2 separate regions of the Homo sapiens genome follow, and region 1 is linked to region 2. The links are contacts of gene promoters, found by promoter capture Hi-C in blood cells and fetal thymus (Javierre and others, 2016). All regions are on one chromosome and are shown on one strand. Each heading gives the region's core, a stretch centred on a gene start or on the middle of the fragment in contact. The rest is flanking DNA. Distances are from core to core; before and after follow the strand shown. Region 1 overlaps LINC01605 (long intergenic non-protein coding RNA 1605). Region 2 holds the start of LINC01605 (long intergenic non-protein coding RNA 1605).

The links. Contacts are between HindIII fragments. The CHiCAGO score rates a contact against its expected background, and 5 or more counts as called.
Region 1: a fragment that was not itself captured here is called in contact with the fragment with the promoter of LINC01605 in region 2 in 1 of 17 cell types (monocytes); the score reaches 5.1 in monocytes.

What each region holds. Positions count from the first base shown.
Region 1 is chr8:37,533,872-37,538,540 of GRCh38, reverse strand. All of the region lies in intron 1 of LINC01605 (long intergenic non-protein coding RNA 1605), which reads left to right. Among named protein-coding and RNA genes, the nearest start is that of LINC01605, 64 kb to the left of the region's middle. The HindIII fragment of the contact is 9,978 bases long and covers 1-4,669 here.
Region 2 is chr8:37,596,852-37,601,374 of GRCh38, reverse strand. It overlaps LINC01605 (long intergenic non-protein coding RNA 1605), which reads left to right and starts at 1,536. Exons shown (of 5, transcript NR_170186.1): 1 at 1,536-2,314. The HindIII fragment of the contact is 9,185 bases long and covers 1,150-4,523 here.

The sequences.
Region 1 (4,669 bases), core at 1,698-4,197, 64 kb after region 2:
CTATCTTTTTGCTTTAATTATATGTCTTCAGACCCTGTAAGACTTTAGGATTCCTTGAAATTTATTCTCATAATTTTCCCTGAGCACACAGAATTGTTTTTTCCCCTGGCTCTCTTACCTTTTCCTGTAAGTGGTAGCTCAAATGAAATCGGTATTTGTTAGTACCTCTCTGCTGCCACCTTACTTTCATGCAAGTCACCACTCTCCCCTCCAGACAACCAGGATTGTTATTATTATTATTATTTGGTTTGTTTATTTTCTGAGACAGAGTCCTCACTCTGTCATCCAGGCTGGAGTGCAGTGGCACGATCTCGGCTCACTGCAGCCTCCGCCTCCTGGGCTCAAGCAATTCTCCTGACTCAGCCTCCCAGGTAGCTGAGATTACAGGCACCAGCCATCACGCCCGGCTAATCGGCTAATTTTTATATTTTTAGTAGAGACGGGGTTTCACCATTTTGGCCAGGCTGGTCTTGGATTCCTGACCACCTGCCTTGGCCTCCCAAAGTGCTGGGATTACAGGCATGAGCCACCGCACCTGGCAGACCATGATTGTTTTTTTTTTTTCAACTTTGGGATCCATTTTATTACTGAAATTTGAAGAATGTAATATAAACACTCAATTTTACTAGCTCCCAATATTCTGATGGTGACCCTAAGTTATTTCTAAATTCTGAGACCATGATTGTTTTTAAAATGCTTCCACTCTTGCACTCTTTCCACTCTCTTCTTCTGGGTGATCTTTTCAAGCCACAAATCTGTTCTCATCATTCTTTGCTGGAAATCCTTTGCTGGTTATCTCTTGAATTTAGGATAAGATAGAAAAGATATCTAACAAGTTCCTCCTCTGCCTCACTTGCTGAGAGTTTCCAACCACATGCGCCTTCTCTCAGTCCTTTGACTAACTTCACTTTCCTGCCTCAGGCCTTTGCAAATGCTGTTCCTGCTGTTCCAAACTGCTTCACCCAAGTCTTTAGTTGGCTAAAGTGGACTCAGCGTCCAGCTCTCAGGTCAAATGTTGCTTCCCCAGAGAAACCTTTTCTTGACACTGGCCCTCTATATAGTCCCTCAATATCCCTCTTACTTTTCCTTCATGCTGCTTATTACAGTTTGTAATTATACCCTGATTTGTTTGGTTGCTATGGAATGTCTCTGTCCCTGATAGATATGTTTGTCTCTAAGGCAGAGCAAATCTGTTGTGTGAAAGGTTGTACCCTATTCCTGCTTTCATCCCTGGTCCCTGACTCAGCCACTGCCCTCACTTCCCCACCCCAGTGCAGTGCCTGCCATAGATTAGATACTCAATCGATGCTTGTTGAATGAATGAGTGATGCCGATTCTTACCTGCTGCAAACATACAAGTGAGGAGCCATAACACTGCAGCATGTTGGATTGGGATGTCTAGGCAGATAACATGGTTTTCAATAGACCTTGGTGTGAGTAGCTTTAATATTTGCTGTAATTTGTGAGTGTCCCTAAGGCTCACGGCATAATTTGCGATTGTGGTGAGGTCTGAGCTTGCACCGCATGTGCTGAGATGCCAGTGTGTGAGGCAGATTCCTGCCTGGTGAGTGAGACAGATTTTCAGTGCTGTAGCTACACCTTAATGTGGCTTTGCTACTCTCTGCTTCTCACATCCTATGGGGATCTTTCTACAGGGAGAGTGCATTCTAGAGCATCTCTGGCAGCTGGTCAAGGCTCTGGGATTGAATACCTCCATGAAATAGAGCTCTCTGCCTCTGAATCAGCCTGGTGGACAGCTCTGGCTGTTCGATAGAGCTTCCTTGAGTTAAAGAGAGATTTAGCTTCCTTAGAACCTTTAACTATTGACTGCCTTCTGTCTTTTGAGGAAACATCAATTTCATTCAAGGGCCATTTACTGAACGCTGGCATTATATATAGCAGGTGACATGCCAGGCACTGGGTGTGGAGCGCTGGGTAAGACACACTTGAAAAGCTCAGCTTAGGGAATACCAATTGCAGGTCACAATGTTCTCACATAATTATCACAACAACTTTGCAATGTGTGTGTTATTAGGCTCGTTTTACAGGTGAGGAAATAAAGTCTTGGAGAGTTCATGTGACTTGTCTGGGATTCCACAGTTTGCATGCAGGGAGACTATAGCTCAATCTTAAATGTTTTGACTCCAGCCTATTGTGCATTTTTTACTTCCCTAAGCTGAAAATATGAAATTTCTGCTTCATGCAGCCCCTAGTATATTTGAGCGTAGCTACTGTACTCCCCAAATCATCTTTTCTCCTGCATAAACTTGATTCCCAAAAGTATGATGATGCCCAGTGGGTCTTCTTTGGACCCAGTCATGTGGAAGTACCCTTCCATGTTGCAGAAGGTCCTGGCTATTATACAACACTCTTCCATTTGCAAACCGGGAGGGCCTCAGCCTTGGGTACAAGATTCAGAAGAGGAATTTGGGGTGGTTATTCTCCATGGGCAATGAAACTGGTGGTGAAGCCTGGGGCCTATTTCTAGGACAATTCAGGAGGTACTTTCCCAACAAGCATCTCAGCAGTGAAACATGAAGGATGTTCAGATTTCTAGGGCTGGATGTCTGACACTCAGGACATCTTCTCTACGACATCCCTGTTAGGGCTTTTGCAGGCATCTGTCTAAATGGGTCACATTACAGGGCACTCACAACCATCTGAGAAATCTCTAATAGACAGATCTATTAGATTTTACTCAACATTTGAGGAAAACAATCCCTGTCATTGTGTAGCTTCTGCTTACTGGTCTTCTTTTCGCTGGGCAACTTAAGCGCAGTGCCTCTCTGACATGGCAGGCTGCCACACATTAAATATGCAGGGAGTCCCAAATGGGGCCCAGACCTGGTTCAGGCAGGTCTGGGCAGGCCTGGTGAACTGCTGCATGGGCCTGTTAGAAGCCTATGTGCACCAGAGATCATGGAGCCTCCTGGGAAGGAGCTCGTCTTGAAGGAAGAAGGAACCAGGCATTAACACCTAACTTGGTCACTGAGCTTTAATTGTGACAGGAAAGGAGAGGTTCTGAGCATGGCCCAGTGTACAGCTCACAGCAGAATCTGTCTCACTACTCAGCCCCCATTGGACTTCGTTAAGAGATCTATGGAGAGCAAAAAAGCTATGCACAAAAATGGAAAGAATGGTTGACACTAACATGTGGTAGTCACTGGGGAACCAGCTCTGGGACTCATCTTGAGACTAACACGAAACGGGGAGAGAGGCTCACTCCTCCACTGCACTGCAGAGCCTGCGGTTCTCTGGTCTTGAGCATCTCTGTGGTGGCAAGGACAGCGATCCCCAGCAAGAGGTAGCAGCGCCCTGTGTCCTGGCAGAGGCCTGGATCAGGCCAATGAGAGTAGAACTATGGGGACCAGAAAACTGCTGTGTGTGTTGAGCACACATGAGGCACCCCCAAGTCACTCTAGAAATACTGGGGGACACTTGCAAACAGGCTGCCGCTCTGAGTGAGCTGGTGAAAGTTAAGTCATTGTTGGCTGGGTGCGGTGGCTCACACCTGTAATCCCAGCACTTTGGGAGGCTGAGGCGGGTGGATTGCCTGAGGTCAGGAGTTCGAGACCAGCCTGGGCAACATGGTGAAACCCTGTCTCTACCAAAAATACCAAAAATTAACCGGGCATGAAGGTATGTGCCTGTGGTCCCAACTACTCGGGAGACTGAGGTAGGAAGATCACTTGAGTCCAGGAGGCAGAGGTTGCAGAGAGCCGAGATTGTGCCACTGCACTCCAGCCTGGGCAACAGAGCAAGGCCCTGTCTCAAAAAAAAAAAAAAAAAAAAAAAAAGAAAGTTACACTAATGGGATCACATGCAAATGGGCTGATTGAAACCCAGAGGACCATCACCATCCCCCGTCCTCTCTTTTCCTGGATGAACATTCCCAGTGTTTTCAATCTCTTTTCTGAACTGACCATTCTGAGCCCTCCACCATTCTTGTTACTCTCTTTTGAAACCATTCCAGGCTGTGAGAGCCAAAGCTGTTTGCTATGAGGGTTTTCAGAAATCTCAGAATTAATCTGGCCTAACATTCTTTTTTAGGCTACATGAAAGAAAGGCCCACAAAGGCTTGAAGAGACTTGTCCCAACTCTATGTCCAGTTAGGAGAAGAGCAAGGACTTCACTCAATACACACGGCCCTGTTTTTTTCTTTTATTCCCATCCAGATTTATTTACCCTTTATTTTTCTGTTGTTGGGTTTGTTTCTGAGCCAGGGGCTTGCAACGTCTGGGCAAATGCAGCCATTATGTTCTCATGGTCAGGCATGGTAGAGTTTTGGACTATCCAGCAGTTGTCAGGTGCATTTGGTTTTAACCCTCTAAGGGCGAGGGAAACAGACACAGCTTTTCACTGACCCTCAGGGACTCTGCATTCTCTCTGCAGAGACCAGCAGGAGGAGCCCCTCAGTGGAAAAAGCATCTCTTTACTTGCAAGGAATAAGGTCACTGCAGGTGCTCTGTGCAGAAGCAGAAAGTGACAGAAGGAAGTATGGTCCAGTGACCCCAAAACAAGTGGGAAAATTGCCCACATGGAATAACTTAGTGCTCAGACAAAAAATCTCCCAAGAAAAACTGACCAGGAAAATGTCCTGCTATCAACTGTGGTTCCAGATGGAGAGCTGGGATGGGTCCTTGTAGCCAGTGGAGTCCCTTTGATGTCA
Region 2 (4,523 bases), core at 287-2,786:
ACCCAGGGCCAGGGAGCCTCACTGAGAGGTCAACCAAGCTTATCCTTGGCATTTCCTCCCCACCCCGACCTCTGCCTGGGATGTTCTCTGCTGTCATTCTCTGAGTGTATGCGGATACTCTCCTATCTCATCTGCAAAACAAGTGGCTTGGATGGGATGTTGACTAAGACCAACGAGATACCTTCCATGGTCTTAAAGATCAAAGATTTTACTTTTCTGTTAATCTGAGAACTTAGAAGGATCCCCTCCAAGTTAGAGGACTACATTTACAGCAGCTTAGATGAACAGAAAGGACTAGAAGTGAGAGTGATGGTAACAAGGGCAGTCACTTTCCATCTATAGTGCTCTGGAGTTGATGACAGTGCTCCGTGTATTAGGTTTCCTGATTAAAAACTGTTTATTTTGTAGCAGAGGCTACTGAGGGCCGGAGGTTGTTAAATGACTTGCTTGAGGTCACGCAGGTAGTGAGTGATAAAGTCAGCCTCCTAACCAGGGTTTTCCAGTCCTAACTCTGATACAAAGTAACTGTGTGAAGACATTGCCCATATCTAGGCCCCAGTCTCCCAATCTGTGAAATGGGTGGATTGTTCCACTGGCAATAAGATGTGGTGTTTTGTTTTGTTTTGTTTTGTTTTGTTTTGTGACAGGGTCTCTCTCTCTGTTGCCTGGGCTGGAGTCCAGTGGCATGATTCCAGCTCACTGCAGCCTCAAACTCCTGGGCTCAAGCGATCCTCCTGCTGCAGTCTCCTGAGTAGCTGGGACTACAGGTGCACACCACCGTGCCCAGCTAAGTTTTTTTTTTTTAGTTTATATGGGGTCTCACTATGTTGCCCAACCTAGTTTTGAACTCCTGGCCTCAAGCGATCCTGCCTTGGCCTCCCTGAGTGCTGGAGTTACAGATGTGAGCCACCGTGCCCAGCCAGATGTGTGATCTTATGGTTTGCCTTTTGCTCCCACACGTCAGAACTGGTGATCTGCTTGCCCTTGGAATGCCAGGGGCCGACCTGATTTTCAGGAAATGGTCCTTTCCCTGTGGGTGGGGAAGCTTCACTTGGTGCTGTTTGGTAAATAACTGTATTGGTCTCCGGAGGGTTTGAAAATCACATTTCTCCCTCTTATTGCTATGGGCGACTAACACTAGCTAAAGCTTGAAATCAGGCCCCAAAGGGTGGCCTCGCTGATGACTCTGGTTTCTCTTTTCACTGTCTAGGGCCCAGGGAGTTTCTCAGCATTTTTGATTGTGAAGGACTATAGAGGCCTTCCTGTGCCCAGAAAGGCCTTGCTTGGTGGGTGTTTAGTCCAAGCCCTTGCCTTCAGGCGGATGGACCAGATGACCTAATAAAGTTTCTAATAAAACCTCCTGGGCAGATCACCAACCTCCTTCCTCTTTAAAGTCTCATTGAGAGAGGAATGTCTACAGCATCCTTGGTAACACATTACAGTGTTTCACAACCCTCCTAGCCAGGAAGCTGTTCTTAATGTTTAACCTTAATCCCTCCCGCTGAAATTTAAGGCCCTTTTCTCTTGTTGAGTGCAAATGGAGAACAGCTGCTCACGCTCGTCGTCTGACATCAGCTATTTCTCAGGATGACCCTGCGAGACAGGCCAGGGTCATTAGACCCAATTTGGTTCTCAGCAAATATGTGTTTATTCCTGCATGCGTGGGCCACAGGCTGGTTTCTTGGGTGCAATGAATAGCTGCAGGTTTATTAGGGTGTCTTTTTAGATGGATGTATGTTTCCCGATGTCTATAGAACACTCCGGACCCCGGAGAGTGAAGACTCTGCCTGTCGGACTTGCTTTGAGAAGATCCTTCTCCACCTCCCCATGGCAGAAGTTGCTTCACAGAGGGGAACAGTTTTATGGATGTGGCTGAGACCTTAAACTTGAGGCAACCCATCTGAGGTGGCATCCAGAGGAGACTGGCTGGCCCCTCCTTCACCTTGGATGTAGTGCTGTTTCTAGGATCTCTTTTCAATCAGCAAAACAGGGGATGTTCCAAGAGGGTGTGGATTCCCTGCCATCCCACATGGTCAAGTGGAGGGGACGGGAAAAAGCTATGAAGGGTTTGTGACCACACAGACTCTCCTGGCCCCCTGTCCTTTTGGAAAGAAGACAGGGATGAAATATAATCAAGCAATTAACCACCCCCATCATCACCAAGAACAACAGTATCAACAAGAAGAACAGGGACAACAAAACCCACGGATGAAACATTCCTTTCTCAGCTCAGATCTTATCTGGTGCGTTCTCTCTCTGCTCTGTCTTGGTGTGTGGTTTAGAGAAACATGGACAACGCTGTTTGGAAGAACAGGTGAGCGAGGGTGGGGAATTTCAGAGGCCTGGGCCCACCGCCTCCACCCCTTCCCCAGTTTAACCTTTGACAGGATCTTCACCTCTCTCTGATCAGCATTGCTTCTTGTTCAAAGGCCTCAGCCACCCAGCTGTGTCCCTTTCCCCAGAAAGCAAGGGCAGATGGCAGTGGGTCTGTTGATGAGAGAACTTTAAGGGCCCAATCAGTCCCTGGGCACCCCCTCCTGGGCTCGTTTTCTCCAGGAGGCTGCATTCTGATCCATAAACCTTCTCCTCGGGGTTTAGGGTCGAGCTGTTCCTGATGTTTATCGGAGACTGGGATCAAAGCTATCCAGGTCATAAATCTCTCTCTGTGGCTGTTGGGCCCCAGGGCAGCTGAAGAGGGTTGACAGCCCTTTGGACCTCAAAGGAAAAAATGTGCTCTACTCCACCCACTCCCAGCTCTGCCAAGAAGCTGTCCTCTGAGAAGCCATGGCTGGGCCGTTCCATTCTGGGGAGCTGCTGAAAAGAGCTGGGAGGCCGAGAAGAACTTGCGTGTGCTGGGGGAGAGGAAGCCTGGCCTTGAGGGAGGGGTGCAGGTGTGGCTCCTCTGTGTGTGGGGGCTGGGGGACCTTGTGTGCCTTTTCCTTGTGGCTGTGAAATGCTTTATGAGTACTTCCATAGGAGGATGGACAGGGAGTCGGGGAGATAAACTCAGCCACAAGGCCCCAGGGCCTCAGGAAACTTGCACCCAACCCTCTCATTTTACAGAAGAAAACTGTGCCTGGAAGGTTGAAGGGTTTGTTCCCAGTCACACAACCAGGGATCCTTAGGACAGCCAGACCAGGAAACCATTTCCAAACTGCCAAGCCATGGCAGAGTATCAAGACCTCAGGAACCATCGAGACACCATGGAAGCATTGGGAAAAGCCTCCTTAGCTTTTGAAGCTCCTCATTGTTCTTGAGTGTGCATGGAGCCCATGACTGCGGGGTTTTGTAGACACCTCAGGGATTACATGACTGGTACCCCTGACAAAGTCAAGGCTGCTGGACAAAATGAGTCCGAGGATTTCAGGGGCAGCTGGGCGCAGGAGCTGGTGGGCTGTTGGGAGTGCCCCTTTACTGGGCAGGCTTCCTTCCTCCTGGTGATGGGGGGTTCCTCAGCACAAAAGTGAAGGGGTGGAGGGGCTGGAGGAGCAGGAATCTCTCTTGTTGATAGGTATGAGGCCTTGAAGTCCTTTTCTTTGTCCCAGGATTCATGGACGCTTCGGGGCTGATCTTTGAGTTTTCAAGCATGGGGTGCAGAGACGTTTAGGTAAACTCTTACCGTCCTCTCTCTTCGTCAGGGCTTCCCAGGAATCAACAATGCCCAAGAAGGAAGGGATTGTAGAAATAGCTTAACCCTTTCATTTACCAACGTGGAAATTGAAGCCCAGGGAAGGGAAGGGACCGGTCGTGGAAGGGAGAGCCATCAGCAGAAAGAGACCCTGAGATCTTCGCCTGGGATTCCCAGGAAGTCCAGCCCGAGCTGATTCACAGAACAAATGCATGCAAACCTTGCTATCAATAAATTACACATGCACTTACGTAAAACACATAAAAATATATGGCCTTGGTTTTGGAACAATACCCCACAGATAAAAGTAGCTTTAAATCCTCCATAAAATGATAAAGTCTAGTCCTAAACTCCTAGCAGTTCTGCGGGTGATCACAGGCGGCAGGAGCCGCTCAAACTTTAATGGCTTGGTATCTCCACATGTAGACAGGAGGCAGAAAACCATCGGGGATGAAGTCGTGGGCTCTAGAATTGCAAAGACGTGGGTTCCAGGCCAGGCTTGGCCCTTGCTAACTGTTGACCTTGAGCAAATTACCCAACCTGTTCCTTATTTGTTTCTGCCTCATAGGTAGTTGTGCAGATGAAATGATATCAGTTCTCAGAACAGTGCTGGGGACAGAGTACACTCTATGCTCAATACATATTCACTTTTAGAGATATCTTGGGATTCTCAGTCTAAGTGACATTCAAAAGTACCTCACTGGGAGGCAAGACCAAGGTGGAGCCTCCTCTTGGATGGGATGTGGGCCTATTTTATTTTACTTCTTTATTTTTGTAGGTGCATGCCACCACACTTGCTAATTAATTTTTTTTTTTTTTTTTTGTAGAGATGGGGTCTCACTATGTTGCTCAGGCTGGTCTTAAACTCCTGGCCTCAAGCAATCCTCCTGCCTCA